Regions from separate parts of the Homo sapiens genome. Here region 1 is linked to region 2. The links are contacts of gene promoters, found by promoter capture Hi-C in human tissues and cell types (Jung and others, 2019). All regions are on one chromosome and are shown on one strand. Each heading gives the region's core, a stretch centred on a gene start or on the middle of the fragment in contact. The rest is flanking DNA. Distances are from core to core; before and after follow the strand shown. Region 1 holds the start of SNRNP70 (small nuclear ribonucleoprotein U1 subunit 70). Region 2 holds the start of CA11 (carbonic anhydrase 11).

The links. Contacts are between HindIII fragments. The study calls those that stand out against the background at their distance.
Region 1: the fragment with the promoter of SNRNP70 here is called in contact with the fragment with the promoter of CA11 in region 2 in 1 of the 25 tissues and cell types used here (lymphoblastoid cells).

The regions. Positions count from the first base shown.
Region 1 is chr19:49,081,114-49,088,778 of GRCh38, reverse strand. It overlaps SNRNP70 (small nuclear ribonucleoprotein U1 subunit 70), which reads right to left and starts at 3,328. Exons shown (of 10, transcript NM_003089.6): 1 at 3,143-3,328; 2 at 2,218-2,374. The coding sequence starts at 2,364. It also overlaps the pseudogene RN7SL708P. RefSeq lists enhancers at 3,143-3,232, 3,583-3,652. The HindIII fragment of the contact is 18,802 bases long and covers 1-7,665 here.
Region 2 is chr19:48,644,078-48,651,143 of GRCh38, reverse strand. CA11 (carbonic anhydrase 11) reads left to right here and starts at 4,957. Exons shown (of 9, transcript NM_001217.5): 1 at 4,957-5,578; 2 at 5,667-5,741; 3 at 6,575-6,717. The coding sequence starts at 5,512. It also overlaps the pseudogene SEC1P. RefSeq lists silencers at 4,339-4,748, 4,779-4,968 and enhancers at 4,926-5,626, 5,627-6,327, 6,328-7,029. The HindIII fragment of the contact is 19,792 bases long and covers 1-7,066 here.

The sequences.
Region 1 (7,665 bases), core at 2,079-4,578, 440 kb before region 2:
TCATGCCTGTAATCCCAGCACTTTGGGAGGCCAAGGCAGACAGATCACAAGGTCAGGAGTTTGAGACCATCCTGACCAACATGGTGAAACCCCGTCTTTACAAAAAATACAAAAATTAGCCAGGCATGGTAGCGCGTGCCTGTAATCCCAGCTACTCAGGAGGCTGAGGCAGGAGAATCCTTTGAACCCGGGAGGTGGAAGTTGCAGTGAGCCTAGATCACGCCACTGCACTCCAGCCTGGGCAACAGAGCGATACTCCATCTCAAAAAAAAAAAAAAAAGGTCGGGTGCGGTGGCTCACGTCTGTAATCCCAGCACTTTGGAAGGCCAAAGTGGGCAGATCACAAGGTCAGGAGATCAAGACCATCCTGGCTAACACGGTGAAACCCCATCTCTAAAAATACAAAAAATTAGCCAGGCGTGGTGGCGGGCACCTGTAGTCCCAGCTACTCGGGAGGCTGAGGCAGGAGAATGGCATGAACCCGGGAGGCGGAGCTTGCAGTGAGCCGAGATCACGCCACTGCACTCCAGCCTAGGCAACAGAGCGAGACTCCAAGTCAAAAAAAAAAAAAAAAAAAAAGTACCTGGCTCCCAGGCATGGTGGCTCACACCTGTAATCCCAGCACTCTGGGAGGCCAAGGGGGGTGGATCACCTGAGGTTAGGGGTTCGAAACCAGCCTGGCCTACATGGTGAAACCCCATCTCTACTAAAAATACAAAATTAGCCAGGCGTGGTGGTGCATGCCTGTAATCCCAGCTACTTGAGAGGCTGAGGCAGGAGAACTGCTTGAACCGGAGGCTGCAGTTGGCTAAAATCACGCCACTGCACTCCAGCCTGGGCAACAGAGCAAAACTGTCTCATAAATAAATAAATGGTAACTGGCACATGACCTGCATCATCAAAGGGCACCTACCACCCGCCTGTGCCCATTAAGTTAATTGGCCAGTAATATCTCTCAAGTGCGGGTTCACCAAGGGTGGCAAATCCCACTGAAGACATACCTTTCTGTTATCTACGAAATTCTGCTCTGCAACTCCCTCGCCTCCAGCTGCCCTTACCTACCCAATGCTAGAACGTTCTTCTTGTAACTTCCGACTGTGTGCCAGCTTTTCTCAGGTGTGCTCTGATGCACCTAAGAGATGACCCTTGTCATCCCATTTCACAAATAAAAACACAGAGGTCCAGGAGCCTAAGTCATTCATTCCTATTTATCCCAAAGGTGCAGAGCTAAGATCCCCATCTGCAGTTTTAAGCCCTCCAATACTCAATACTGGGTGCTAAGCCTTTATGAACATCATCTTATTAACAATAAAAGTAGTAAACAGAGTAACAAAGGCTGACATGTGCTGACTGCTTGGTGCCAAGCCCCCTGACATACAGTTTGCCATTTAATTCTCCACCAACATTATAAGGGTGCTACCACTATCCCCTTGCTAAAGATAAAGAAACCAATGCATTAAGAGGATACAACATTTGCCCAAAGTCAGAGCTGATAAATGGTGTGGGTTAGGCATGAATCCTCAACCACTACTCACTGAATTTTCACAAAAATTCTACAAAAGGTGTACTATCAACCCCACTTTTTTTTTTTTTTTTTTTTTGAGACAGTCTTGTTCTGTTGCTCAGGATGGAGTGCAGTGGCGCGATCTCGGCTCATTGCAACCTCCGCCTCCTGGGTTCAAGTGATTCCCGTGCCTCAGCCTCCCAAGTAGCTGGAATTACAGGCACCATGTCCGGCTAATTTTTGTTATTTTTAGCAGAGACGTGGTTTCACCATGTTGGCCAGGCTGGTCTTCAACTCCTCACCTCAAGTGATCCGCCTGCCTCGGTCTCCCAAAGTACTGGGATTACAGGCGTGAGCCACCGTACCGGGCCACAACCCCACTTAAAAAAAAAATTTTTTTTTTGAGAGACGAAGTCCTGCTCTGTCACCCAGGCCGGAGTATAGTGGCACAATCACAAAGCACTCCAGCCTCCGACTCCTGGGCTCAAGCAATCCTCCCACCTCAGCCTCCTGAGTAGCTGAGACTACAGACGCACTCGACCACACCCGACACCCGGCTCCAACCCCATTTAAAACAGAGAAACTGAGGATCACAAAGGTTAAGCCCCTCGCTTAAATCACGCAGCTGGCAAAATGGCCAGAAGCTGGACTCGCAAATCCAACCCGTTGCTCCCCAGAACCCAAACCATTCCTGGCCTGCTCAGTGAACTCACCTCAAACTCTCGAATGTACGGCGCAATGCCACAATAAGGTTGATTGTGGTGTTTTTCATGTGGCAGTTTCTCCAGGGGTGGCAGGTATGGAATAGGGTCACGGGGGGCAAAGAGGGCCAGAAGGTTGGGCGGCAGGAACTGGGTCATCTTGCCAAGTCTGAGAGCAGAAGCAGGACAGCCTTAGGTTAGATCGGGTCTGCACAGAGAAAGCCCCTGTTACTCCTTGACTCTCAAAATAAGAAAGACAGGAGAAAAGTCTCGGAATTAAAACAGGCTCTGTAAGGGCAGAGAACAGTCCTGTGTTGCGGAGAAAAGGGTACGTCTTGGTGGGGGTGGAGGTGAAAGGCCGGTAAAGAAAACAAAAATAACGGCTGGAAAAGGGTTCCTGAAGAGTGAAGTCTCAGAGTCCTCTGACACGAGCTGTGGGGCGGAGAGGTTCCCTGGGAATTTCTGGGGAAATCAAGGACCCGAGGAGGGAGGCCCAGAGCAGCTGTGGCTGCTCGTCCCGTGCCGTGGAGGGCAAATTACGAGATGCAGTTTGCAGGGTCCTGGGGATCGGAAGTTTCCAAGCAAAGAAAGAGAAACATAAGGAGCGAAGCCCCAAAACCAAGTGCTTGTGGGTAACAGACCTGGACCCCGCAAAAAGCGAAAGGAATTATGGGTAAGGGTCCAGGACAACATAGACAAACGAAAAAGAAAAAAGGCCACACACCGCAAGGGCCTGTGGGTAGGGAACCACGAGGGCGCTGTGGGAAGCGGGCGTGGGTGCCCAGAGATTTCGGGGTCCGGGAAAGGGATGCAGAAGGGACCTGTGGCGGGGACGCGGGAAAGGGGCCTGGCCGCGGGGAAGAGGACCGGGCCCACCGCTGGGGCTTCTGGGTAGCGGCCCCGCACCCCGTCGGGCCACTCAGTCACACTCACTCACCGCGTAGCGCCCTCCTCGCTCTGGCGTCTGTCCGGAGGCTCGCGGCGGCTGCGGCAGCCCCTCAGCAACAACAACTCCTGCTTCGGCTTCCACTCCGGGGGCGTCCACGTCCGTCTGATTCCGTCGCCCGCTAAGCGAGCGCACCAGGCCGCTGCTCAGCCACCCGCGCGGCCTCCGATAGCGACTGGAGCAGGGGGTGGGTCCCGGCCGCAAATCCCTCCGCCGTCCTCACTGCGCACGCGCCGTGCGGTGCCAACAACAACCCACACACTAGGACCCGGCGCTGCCGCGGGCACAGCGCACGCGCGAGGTCACTACCCCGCCTTTGGGCACCTTGAGTACCTCAGCCGCGGGGGGCTGGCTTCTGCACTGCGCGCGCGCGCTTGCCCCAAGCCGCCCCTCCACCTCCCGCTTTCCGCGCCGAACCGCCTATGTCCGCGAGACTCTCCCTGATGCTCCGCCCCTTTCCGATCACACTTCCCGGATCTTTCGCGCATGCGTTTTGCGTAGAGAACTGTAACGTACCTCTCCGCCGCCTAGCAAAGAGTCCCTAGGTGAACAGCCTGATTGCGTTGATGTCTAATCTATTCAATCAATAACTATTCATCGAGCATCTCGTGTGTGCTAGGCACTGTCTGGGCTTTGGGGGTACAGCACGTGATTAAAGCAAAGTCTTCTGCTGCTAGGGCTTACATTGTACTGGGAGAGACAATAAAAGCATTTAACTGAATAAAGATAATTTGAGGCCAGGCGCGGTGGATCACGCCTGTAATCCCAGAACTTTTGGGAGGCTGAGGCGGGCAGATCACCTGAGGTCAGGAGTGTGAGACCAACCTGACCAACATGGTGAAAGCCCGTCTCTACTAAAAATACAAAAATTAGCCGGGCGTGGCCGTGCGCGCCTGTAAGCCCGGTTACTCTGGAGGCTGAGGCGGGAGAATCGCTTGAACTCGGGAGGCGGAGGTTGCAGTGAGCCGAGGTCGTGCCATTGCACTCCAGCCTGGGCGACAGAGCGACTCCGTCTCAAAAGTAAATAAATAAATAAATAATAAAAGATAATTTGAGATAGTGGCCAGCATAATGAAGAACGATGGAGCAGAATAAAGGGATGGGAAGTGAGAGCGAGGCTGTTTTAGAAAGGGTGATAATGGAAGGCCCCTCTGAAGAGGTAACATTTGAATAAAGGACAGATAGAAGCGAGATCTGGGGTGGGGCCGGGGGGGCGGTGTTTAACAGTAAGTGCAAAGGTCCTGAACTGAGACCAGATGGCAGGAATCTCAGGTTGTTGGCCATGAGATCAGAGAGCTGGCACTTGTTATTTAGAGCCCTGTTCTTAAGTATTGTATCTTAAGTTTTGTGGATGGATTCAATAGCCTGTTTAATAACTACAGAAATTATTGCAAATTAAAATGACTAATTTTATGTTTCAAGAAAAAGGCCGAGTGCAGTGCTCACGCCTGTAATCCCAGCACTTTGGGAGGCCAAGGCGGGCAGATCACCTGAGGTCAATAGTTCGAGACCAGACTGATCAACATGGAGAAACCCCGTCTCTACTAAAAATACAAAATTAGCTGGGCATGGTGGCACATGCCTATAATCCCAGCTACTTGAGAGGCTGAGGCAGGAGAATCACTTGAACCTGGGAGGCAGAGGTTGTGGTGAGCCAAGATGGCACCATTGCACTCCAGCCTGGGAGACAAGAGCAAAACTCCGTCTCAAATAAAAAAAAGAAGTGGGAGGATCGTTTGAGCCGAGAAAGTTGAGGCTGCAGTGAGCCAAGATTGTGCCACTAGACTCCAGCCTGGGCGACAGAGCGAGACTCCGTCTCAAAAAAAAAAAAAAAAAAAGAAAGAAAAGGGCTGGGTGTGGTGGCTCACACCTGTAATCCCAGCACTTTGGGAGGCCGAGGTGGGCGGATCACCTGAGGTCAGGAGTTCGAGACCAGCCTGGCCAACATGGTGAAATCCCATCTCTACTAAAAATACAAAAATTAGCTGGGAGTGGTGGCACGCACCTGTAATTCCAGCTACCTGGGAAGCTGAGGCAGGAGAATTGCTTGAACCCGGGAGGCAGAGATTGCACGACTGCACTCCAGCCTGGGCAACAGAGTGAGAATCTGTCTCAAAAAAACAAATAAAATAGGCCGGGTGTGGTGGCTCACACCTGTAATCCCAGCACTTTGGGAGGCCAAGGTAGGAGGATCCCTGAGATCAGGAGTTCAAGACCAGCCTGGGCAACATGGCGAAACCCCTTCTCTACTAAAAATACAAAAATTAGCTGGACATGGTGGCATGCACCTGTAATCCCAGCTACTTTGAAGGCTAAGGCAGGAGAATCGCTTGAATCTGGGAGGTGGAGGTTGCAGTGAGCTGAGACTGTGCAACTGCACTCCAGCCTGGACAGAGCAAGACTCTATCTCAAAAAATAATAATGATGGCTGGGCACGGTGGCTCACACCTGTAATCCTGGCACTTTGGGAGGCTGAGGCAGGCAGATCATGAGGTCAAGAGATCGAGACCATCCTGGCCAACATGGTGAAACCCTGTCTCTACTAAAAATACAAAAATTAGCTGGGTATGGTGGCACGTGCCTGTTGTCCCAGCTACTTGGGAGGCTGAGGCAGGAGAATTGCTTGAACCCAGGAAGCAGAGGTTGCGGTGAGCCAGGATCGTGCCACTATACTCCAGCGTGGCAACAGAGCGAGACTTTGTCTCAAAACAACAACAATAAAAATAAAATAATAATAATAATAAAATAAAAGGGAGAAATCTGCCAAAGGAAAGGGACAATAGGCTTAACAGAAGTCTGAAACACAGCAGAGAAGACATTAAACTTTAAAGCTCTAGCCTGGCACAGTGGCTCACACCTGTCATCTCAGCACTTTGGGAGGCCGAGGTGGATGGATCACGAGGTCAGGAGTTCAAGACCAGCCTGGCCAAGATGGTGAAACCTCATCTCTACTAAAAATACAAAAATTAGCCAGGTGTGGTGGCAGGTGCCTGTAATCCCAGCTACTCAGGAGGCTGAGACAGAAGAATTGCTTGAACTCGGGAGGCGAAGGTTGTCGTGAGCCAAGATTGCACCACTACACTCCAGCCTGAGCAACAGAGAAAGACTCTGTCTCAAAACAAAAACAAAAACAAAAAAAAACTTTAAAGCTCCAAAATAATCCCTGATTCCATGTTCTGCATCCAAGGCACACTGGTGCAAGGAGTGGGCTCCCAAAGTCTTGGGCAGCAAAGTCCAGCCCCAATGTCTCCTCACACAGGTTGGAGTTTAGTGCCTGCAGCTGTTGTAGGCTCAGGGTGCAATCTGCTGGCAGACCTGTCACTCTGGGATCTAGAGAGGAGGGGTCCCCTTCTCACAGCTCCACTAGGCAGCGCCCTGGTGGGGACTCTATGTTAGGCCTCCAACCCCACCTTTCCCCCTTGGCACTGTCCTAGTAGAGGCTCTCTGTAGGGACTCCAACCATGCAGCCGACTTCTGCCTGGACACCCAGGCTTTCCTACACATCCTCTGAAATCCAGGTGGGAGCTGCTAAGCTTCCTTCACTCTTGCATTCTGTGCACCTGCAGGCTTAATCCCACATGAAAGCTGCCAAAGTTTATGGCTTGCACCCTCTGGAGTGGTGGCCCAAGCTGTACTTGGGACCCTGTGTGTCATGGCTGGTGATCGAACAGCAGGGATGCAGGGGAGCAGTGTCCCCAGGCTGAGCAGGAGACAGGGCCCTGGATCTGGCCCAGTAAACCACTCTTTCCTTATATGCCTCAGAGCCTGTGATGGGGGAGGCTGTTTTGAAGACTCCTGAAATGCCTTCAAGGCCTTTTTCCCATTGTCTTGGATGTTAGCACTTGGCTTCCTTTTAGTCACGCAACCTCTCCAGCAAGGCAATACAGCCTGCTTCTATTTCTCTCCTAAAAAATGCTCTTCCCTTCTCTACCACATTGCCAGGTTGTGACTTTTCTAAACTTTTATGCTGTGCTTCCTATTTATTGATTGATTTTTCAGAGACAGGGTCTCACTGTGTCACTCAGGCTCATGTGCAGTGGCTATTCATAGGCATGATCCCACTCCTGATCAACATGGGAGTTTTGACCTGATCCATTTCCAGCCTAGGTCAGTTCAACCCCTGCTAGGCAACCTGGTAGTCTCCCACGCATGGGAGGTTACCATATTGAAGCCAAACTTAGTATGGACACCTAATCAGCATAACACACTACAGCCCAGAACTTCCTGGGCTCAAACAATCCTTCTGCCTCAGCCTCCAAGTAGCTGGGACTACAGGCATGTGCCACAGAGCCTGGCTGCCTCTCTTTATTTATTTATTTATTTAAGACAGAGTCTTGCTCTGCCACCCAGGCTGGAGTGCAGTGGCGCAATCTCGATTCACTGCAAGCTCCGCCTCCCAGGTTCATGTCATTCTCCTGCCACAGCCTCCTGGGTAGCTGGGACTACAGGCGCCTGCCACCACACTCGGCTAATTTTTTGTATTTTTAGTAGAGACGGGGCTTCACTGTGTTAGC
Region 2 (7,066 bases), core at 3,708-6,207:
GCTGTGATCTTGGCTCACTGCAGCCTCGACCTCCTGAGCTCAAGTCATCCTTTCACCTCAGCCTCCCAAGTAGCTGGGACTACAACTGTGCACTGCCATGCCTGACAAGGTTTTTAAAATTTTTTGCAGAGGCCAGGCACGGTGGCTCACACCTGTAATCCCAGCATTTTGGGAGACCGAGGCAGAAGGATCATGAGGTCAGGAGTTCGAGACCAGCCTGGCCAACATAGTGAAACCCTGTCTCTACTAAAAATACAAAATATTAGCCAGGCTTGGTGGCAGGCTCCTGTAATCCTAGCTACTTGGGAGGCTGAGGCGGGAGAATCGCTTGAACCCAGGAGGCAGAGGCTGCAGTGAGCTGAGATTGCATCACTGCACTCCAGTCTCGGTAATGGTGCTAGACTCTGTCTCAAAAAAAAAAAATTTTTTTTTTTTTTTTTGCTGAGATGGGTTCTCATTGTGTTGTCCAGGCTGGTCTCAAACTCCTGGGCTCAAGTGATCCTCCTGCCTCAGCTTCCCAAAGCACTGGAATTACAGATATAAGCCACTGCACCCGGCCCCTCCCAAGTCTTTAAGGGTCCATCTCTCCACAACTCTGTGTCTCTCTTCCTCTCCCCACCTGTGGTGGTTTGAAAATTAATCCCCAAATTCTGTGATACGTTTCCTTTCAAGAGCAAAGGATTTTTTTTTTTTTTTTTAGACAGGGTCTCATTCTGTCGCCCAGGCTGGAATGCAATGGCTCGATATTGGCTCACTGCAACCTCTGCCTCCCAGCTTCAAGCGATTCTCCTGCCTCAACCTCCTGAGTAGCTGGGATTACAGGCACACGCCACCATGCTCGGCTAATTTTTGTATTTTTTTTTTTTTTGAGACAGTCTTGCTCTGTCACCCAGGCTGGAGTGCAGTGGCGCGATCTCAGCTCACTGCAAGCTCCGCCTCCTGGGTTCACGCCATTCTCTTGCCTCAGCCTCCAGAGTAGCTAGGACTACAGGCGCCCACCACCACGCCCGGCTAATTTTTTGTATTTTTAGTAGAGACGGGGTTTCACCGTGGTCTCGATCTGCTGACCTCATGATCCGCCCGCCTCAGCCTCCCAAAGTGCTGGGATTACAAGCGTGAGCCAACACGCCCGGCCAATTTTTGTATTTTTAATAGAGACGAGGTTTCACCATGTTGGCCAGGCTGCTCTTGAACTCCTGATCTCAAGTGATCTGCCTTCCTCGGCCTCCCAAAGTGCTGGGATTACAGGCGTGAGCCACCGCTCCCGGCCCAAGAGCAGAGGATCCTAACGTCTTTCCTTTTGAGTGTAGGCTAGATCTAGTGACTCATTTCTGATGCGTGGAATAAAAGGTGTGTGACTTTGGGAGACTAGGTCATAAAAGACTTGAGATGACTGCAGCCCTGTCCAACAGTTTCACTGCACCCTCAAGAAGGATCCAGAACCACCCAATGAAGCCATTCCCACATTCCTGGCCCTCAGGAACTGTGAACACAATAAATGTTTGTTGTTTTAAGCCACTGAGTTTTAGGGTAATTTGTCACACAACAACAGATTTTTTTGTCGTTGTTTTGTTTTGTTTTGTCGTTGTTTTTGAGACAGTCTCACTCTTTGCCCAGGCTGGAGGGCACTGGTGTGATCTCGGCTCACTGCAACCTCCACTTCCTGAGTTCAAGTGATTCTCATGCCTCATCCTCCCGAGCAGCTGGGACTAGAGGCATGCGTCACCACACCCGGCTAATTTTTGTTTTTGTTTTTTTTTTTTTTTTGAGACAGAGTCTCACTCTGTCGCCCAGGCTGGAGTGCAGTGGCGCAATCTCGGCGTGTGCCACCATGCCCAGCTAATTTTTGTATTTTTAGCAGAGACACGGTTTCACCATGCTGGTGAGGCCAGTCTCGAAATCCTGACCTTGTGATCCGCCCGCCTTGGCCTCCCAAAGTGCTGGGATTACAGGCGTGAGCCACTGCGCCCAGCCTAATTTTTGTATTTTTGGTAAAGACGGGGTTTCACCACGTTGGTCAGGCTGGTCTCAAACTCCTGACCTCAAGTGATCTGCCTTCCTCGGCCTCCCAAAGTGCTGGAATTACAGGCGTGAGCTGCCGTTCCCCAACTATTTTTTTCTTTTTCTTTTTTCTTTTTTTTTTTTTTTTTTGAGACGGAGTCTCGCTCTGTCGCCCAGGCTGGAGTGCAGTGGCGTGATCTCAGCTCACTGCAAGCTCCACCTCCCGGGTTCACGCCATTCTCCTGCCTCAGCCTCCCGAGGAGCTGGGACTACAGGCGCCCGCCACCGCGCCCGGCTAATTTTTTGTATTTTTAGTAGAGATGGGGTTTCACCGTGGTCTCAATCTCCTGACCTCGTGATCCGCCCGCTTCAGCTTCCCAAAGTGCTAGGATTACAGGTGTGAGCCACTGTGCCCGGCCTGTTTTTTTCTTTTTCATAAAAAATAGAGACGAGGTCTTACTATGTTGCCCAGGCTGGTCTCAAACTCTTGATCTCAAGTGATCCTCCCTCCTCAGCCTCCCAAAGTGCTGGGATTACAGGCATGAACCACCAAGCCCCGCCAGCAATAAATTATTAGTATGTACCTTTCCTTCTTGTGTTTTTTCTTCGTGTCTCTCTCCACCCCTGACTCTCTGGGTTTCTTTCTGGGTGTCTCTCTCCATCTCTAGGTCTTTGAATGTCCATCCCAATTTGCTATCTCTGAATACCTCTGTCTTTCTGATTCCTTTGTAGTCTCTCCCATCATGTCAGTTGGTCTGCTTCTGGTCCTCTCTCCCTCTATCTGGGTCTCTCTATCTCTGTCCATCTGTTCCTCTCTGTTGATGTCTCTTTCTCTGCACGAGTGTCTCTATTTATAGATGTGTGTGTGCCTGTTCCCAGGTCTCTGTCTCTAGCTCTGTGTGTGTGTTTCTTTCTTTCTTTCTTTTTTTTTTTTTTTTTGAGATGGAGTCTCACTCTGTTGCCCAGGCTGGAGTGCACTGTTGGGATCTCGGCTCACTGTAGCCTCCACCTACCCGGTTCAAGCGATTCTCCTGTCTCAGCCTCCTGAGTAGCCGGGATTATAGGTGTGTGCCACCACGCTCAGCTAGTTTTTGTATTTTTTAGTAGAAACGGGGTTGCACCATTTTGGTCAGGCTGGTCTTGAACTCCTGACCTCAGGTGATCCACCCACCTCGACCACCCTAAGTGCTGGGATTACAGGCGTGAGCCACCATGCCTGGCTAAGTTTTTATGTATTTAGTAGAGATGGCATTTGGCCATGTTGGCCGGGCTGGTCTCAGTCTCCTGGCCTCAAGTGATCCATCCACCTTGACCTCCCAGAGTTCTGGGATTACAGGTGTGAGCCACCATGCTCAGTCTGTGTGTGTGTTTCTATGTCTCTCCCTCTCTGTGTCTCTCTCCACCTGTACTGATGTATGTGTGTCTCTTTCTATGTCTCTCTGTCTCGTTAATGTTTGGTGTCAGGCTGGACAAGGTGGCTCACACCTGTAATCCCAGCACTTTGGGAGGCCAAGGCAGGAGGATCCCTTGAGCCCAGGGGTTCCGGACCAGCCTGGGCATCATAGCAAGACTACATCTCTACAAAAAATAATTTTTAAAAATTAGCCTGGCATGGTGGCATGTGCCTGTAGTCCCAACTATTTGGGAGGCTGAGGTGGAAGGAGTGTTTAAGCCCAGGAGGTCGAGGCTGGATCAAGCCATGATCGCACCACTGCTCTCCAGCCTGGGTGACATTGCAAGGCTTGTCTCAAAAAAGAAAATAAAAGAAGACAATGAGCAGTTTCACTACCATTAGACGGGGTGAAAAATAATAAATAACAACAACAACAGTAATATGTGGTCTCTCTGAGGCTGGGTATGGTTGTTCATGCCTGTAATCTCAATGCTTTGGGAGGCCAAGGTGGGAGGATCCCTTGAGGACAGGAGTTTGAGACTAGCCTGAGCAACATAGCATGACCCCATCTCTTCTCCCCAAATACAAAAATGTGGTGTCTCTCTCTGTCTTTGGATCGCTCTTTCTCTCTTTTTGTCTCTCCCCACCCCATCTGCTGCTTGGTCTCTGAGTTTCTGTCTATCTCTAAGTGTGTGTCTCTATGTCTCCATGTCTGTCTCGCTGCGTCTCTGTATCTCCTTTTCTGCCTCTATCTGTATCTCTCTCATTCATTCCTTCCTCTCTCCCTCCCCCTCCTCCTCTCCCTCCTCCCCCTCCTCTCCCTCCCCCTCCTCTCCCTCCTCCCCCTCCTCCTTCACCTCCTCCCCCTCCTCCTCACTCCTGCCTGGCGGTTTGTTCTTGCCTCTCTAACCTTCTGTCCCTCCGCCCTTCCTCTCCGTATCCATCTCAGGCTCCCTTCCCCTCCCCAGCCTACGCAGATGTGGGTCCTCACCTCCCGCTCTCCGCCTCTGCCCTCCCGGCTCCTCCTCCCCGCCCCTCTCTCCCTCGCCAGGTCTCTGCCTCCCCCTCCAGGCGAGCAGCCCTCACTGCACTTCAGGCTCCTAGGGGATCCCCCGGCCCCGTTAAGGCAGCCCCAGGCAGAGACCCAGTGGAGCCCTGGGGCGGGGAAGGGGGGCTGCGGGCGCTGGGGCGGCTCCAACCTGGGTCCCAGCGAGCAGGGGGACCCTGCATCCGCCAAGGCCGGCGGCCCCCAGCATGGAGACTTCCGAAGCCACTCCCAGCTCCACCTTAAGCGCCCCCCCTTCCCCTTGCTGCGGAGGATGGAAACAGCCTGCTCCCGGCCCCAGGTGTCCCGGCCACCCCCGCCCGCGTGGCCCCAGCGCGGCTGGGAGCCGAGGACCAGCCCCCTACCTCCTTCCGAATCCTGCCCTTTCGCACATCCCACCCCAAGCCAACCCGAGGAGTGTTTGCCGCTATGAGATCACCTGCTCCCCCAGCCCAACAACAAAATTAAATAACACCACGGGAGAGGAGAGAGGGAGGGGGAGGAGGGAGGAAGGGACAAGAGAGAAGAGAGACTGAAACAGGGAGAAGAGGCAGGAGAGGAGGAGGTGGGGAGAGCACGAAGCTGGAGGCCGACACTGAGGGAGGGCGGGAGGAGGTGAAGAAGGAGAGAGGGGAGAAGAGGCAGGAGCTGGAAAGGAGAGAGGGAGGAGGAGGAGGAGATGCGGGATGGAGACCTGGAGTTAGGTGGCTTGGGAGAGCTTAATGAAAAGAGAACGGAGAGGAGGTGTGGGTTAGGAACCAAGAGGTAGCCCTGGGGGCAGCAGAAGGCTGAGAGGAGTAGGAAGATCAGGAGCTAGAGGGAGACTGGAGGGTTCCGGGAAAAGAGCAGAGGAAAGAGGAAAGACACAGAGAGACGGGAGAGAGAAGAAGAGTGGGTTTGAAGGGCGGATCTCAGTCCCTGGCTGCTTTGGCATTTGGGGAACTGGGACTCCCTGTGGGGAGGAGAGGAAAGCTGGAAGTCCTGGAGGGACAGGGTCCCAGAAGGAGGGGACAGAGGAGCTGAGAGAGGGGGGCAGGGCGTTGGGCAGGGGTCCCTCGGAGGCCTCCTGGGGATGGGGGCTGCAGCTCGTCTGAGCGCCCCTCGAGCGCTGGTACTCTGGGCTGCACTGGGGGCAGCAGGTAAGACCTGGGGTTCCCGGGAGGAGCCCCCGAGGGAGGGTGGAGGTGGGGATGCCAAGGAGAGGGATTCAGGCTGCTCTCTTCCCAGCTCACATCGGACCAGCACCTGACCCCGAGGACTGGTGGAGCTACAAGGATAATCTCCAGGGAAACTTCGTGCCAGGTGCCGCCAAGGCGGGGACCCAGGAGTCCGGCCCTCCCGGCGCCTCCTTCTTCAGACTCAGGAACCTGGGTTCCCAGCTCCCTCCTCCCCCCCAGGACCAGGAGTCCCAGCCCCCTCCTCTGTCCCTCAGGAGTCGGGCCAGCTTCTGAACCCCAGGGGCTCACCATGGGACATTATACATGCGCATTTCAAGTAGTGAGTGGGAGTGAGTGGAAGGAAAGTGTGGGGGTGGAGATTATGTGTGTGTTTGCCGGGAGAGGAAGGTCCTGGCTCCTGCTAGGAACCAGAGGCTGGGTGGCCCCGTCCCCCACCTTGTCCAGCCTTCTCTTGCAGCTCCTCTCCCCAACACATTAATAATAATCCAGCTGTGGGATAAGAGCGATTAAAAAAAAGAACTACAACTCCCACGGGGCTCTGGGGCAGGTAGGCAGCAGAGGGGTAGGCTGGTAGCACTGGGGCCTGCTGGGAGTTGTAGTTCCATCTACAGTGGCTTAAGATGGGTTTGATCGGCTGGGCGCGGTGGCTCACGCTTGAAATCCCAGCACTTTAGGAGGCCGAGGTGGGTGGATTACCTGTGGTCAGGAGTTCAAGACCAGCCTGGCCAACTTGGTGAAACCCGTCTCTGCTAAACTTGGAAACTATTCCAAGATTCTTCTAGGACCCAGAATTCTGGATCTGAGCCCAGTCCTCCCTCAGACCCAGGAGTCTAGGTCCCTAGCCCCTCCTCCCCTGGGATCTGGGAGTCCAGACCACAGCCCACTCAGCAGATACCAGCCCTGGGATCCAGTCTCTATTTCTGACTCCTTGTCCTCCTACTCCGACCCCACCCCCAGGGCCTCCTTTCTGGGGCCTGGTGAATGCAGCGTGGAGTCTGTGTGCTGTGGGGAAGCGGCAGAGCCCCGTGGATGTGGAGCTGAAGAGGGTTCTTTATGACCCCTTTCTGCCCCCATTAAGGCTCAGCACTGGAGGAGAGAAGGTAAGGGGCTTGGAGGGAGGAGCTATTGAACCCACTGGGGATGGGCATGAATAGAGGCTGGGGAATGGGGTGCTGAGGTAGGAGAGCAGCCTTGGGGGAGGAGGGGACACCCAGTGGGTGGAGAGGAGGCTGCTTACACTGTAAAATGGATCACCCATTCTTCCCATCCCAAGCATGGTCCCCTAGTCTCCCCATCTCTGCAGAAGCAATGAAAAGCAGAACATTTCCTGTGCCAGGCAGATTTAAAACCTTGATAAGCCTCTCATCTCATAACCACCCCACAAAATGGGTACAATTATTATTATTGTTATTATTATTATTATTATTTTGAGATGGAGTTTTGCTCTTG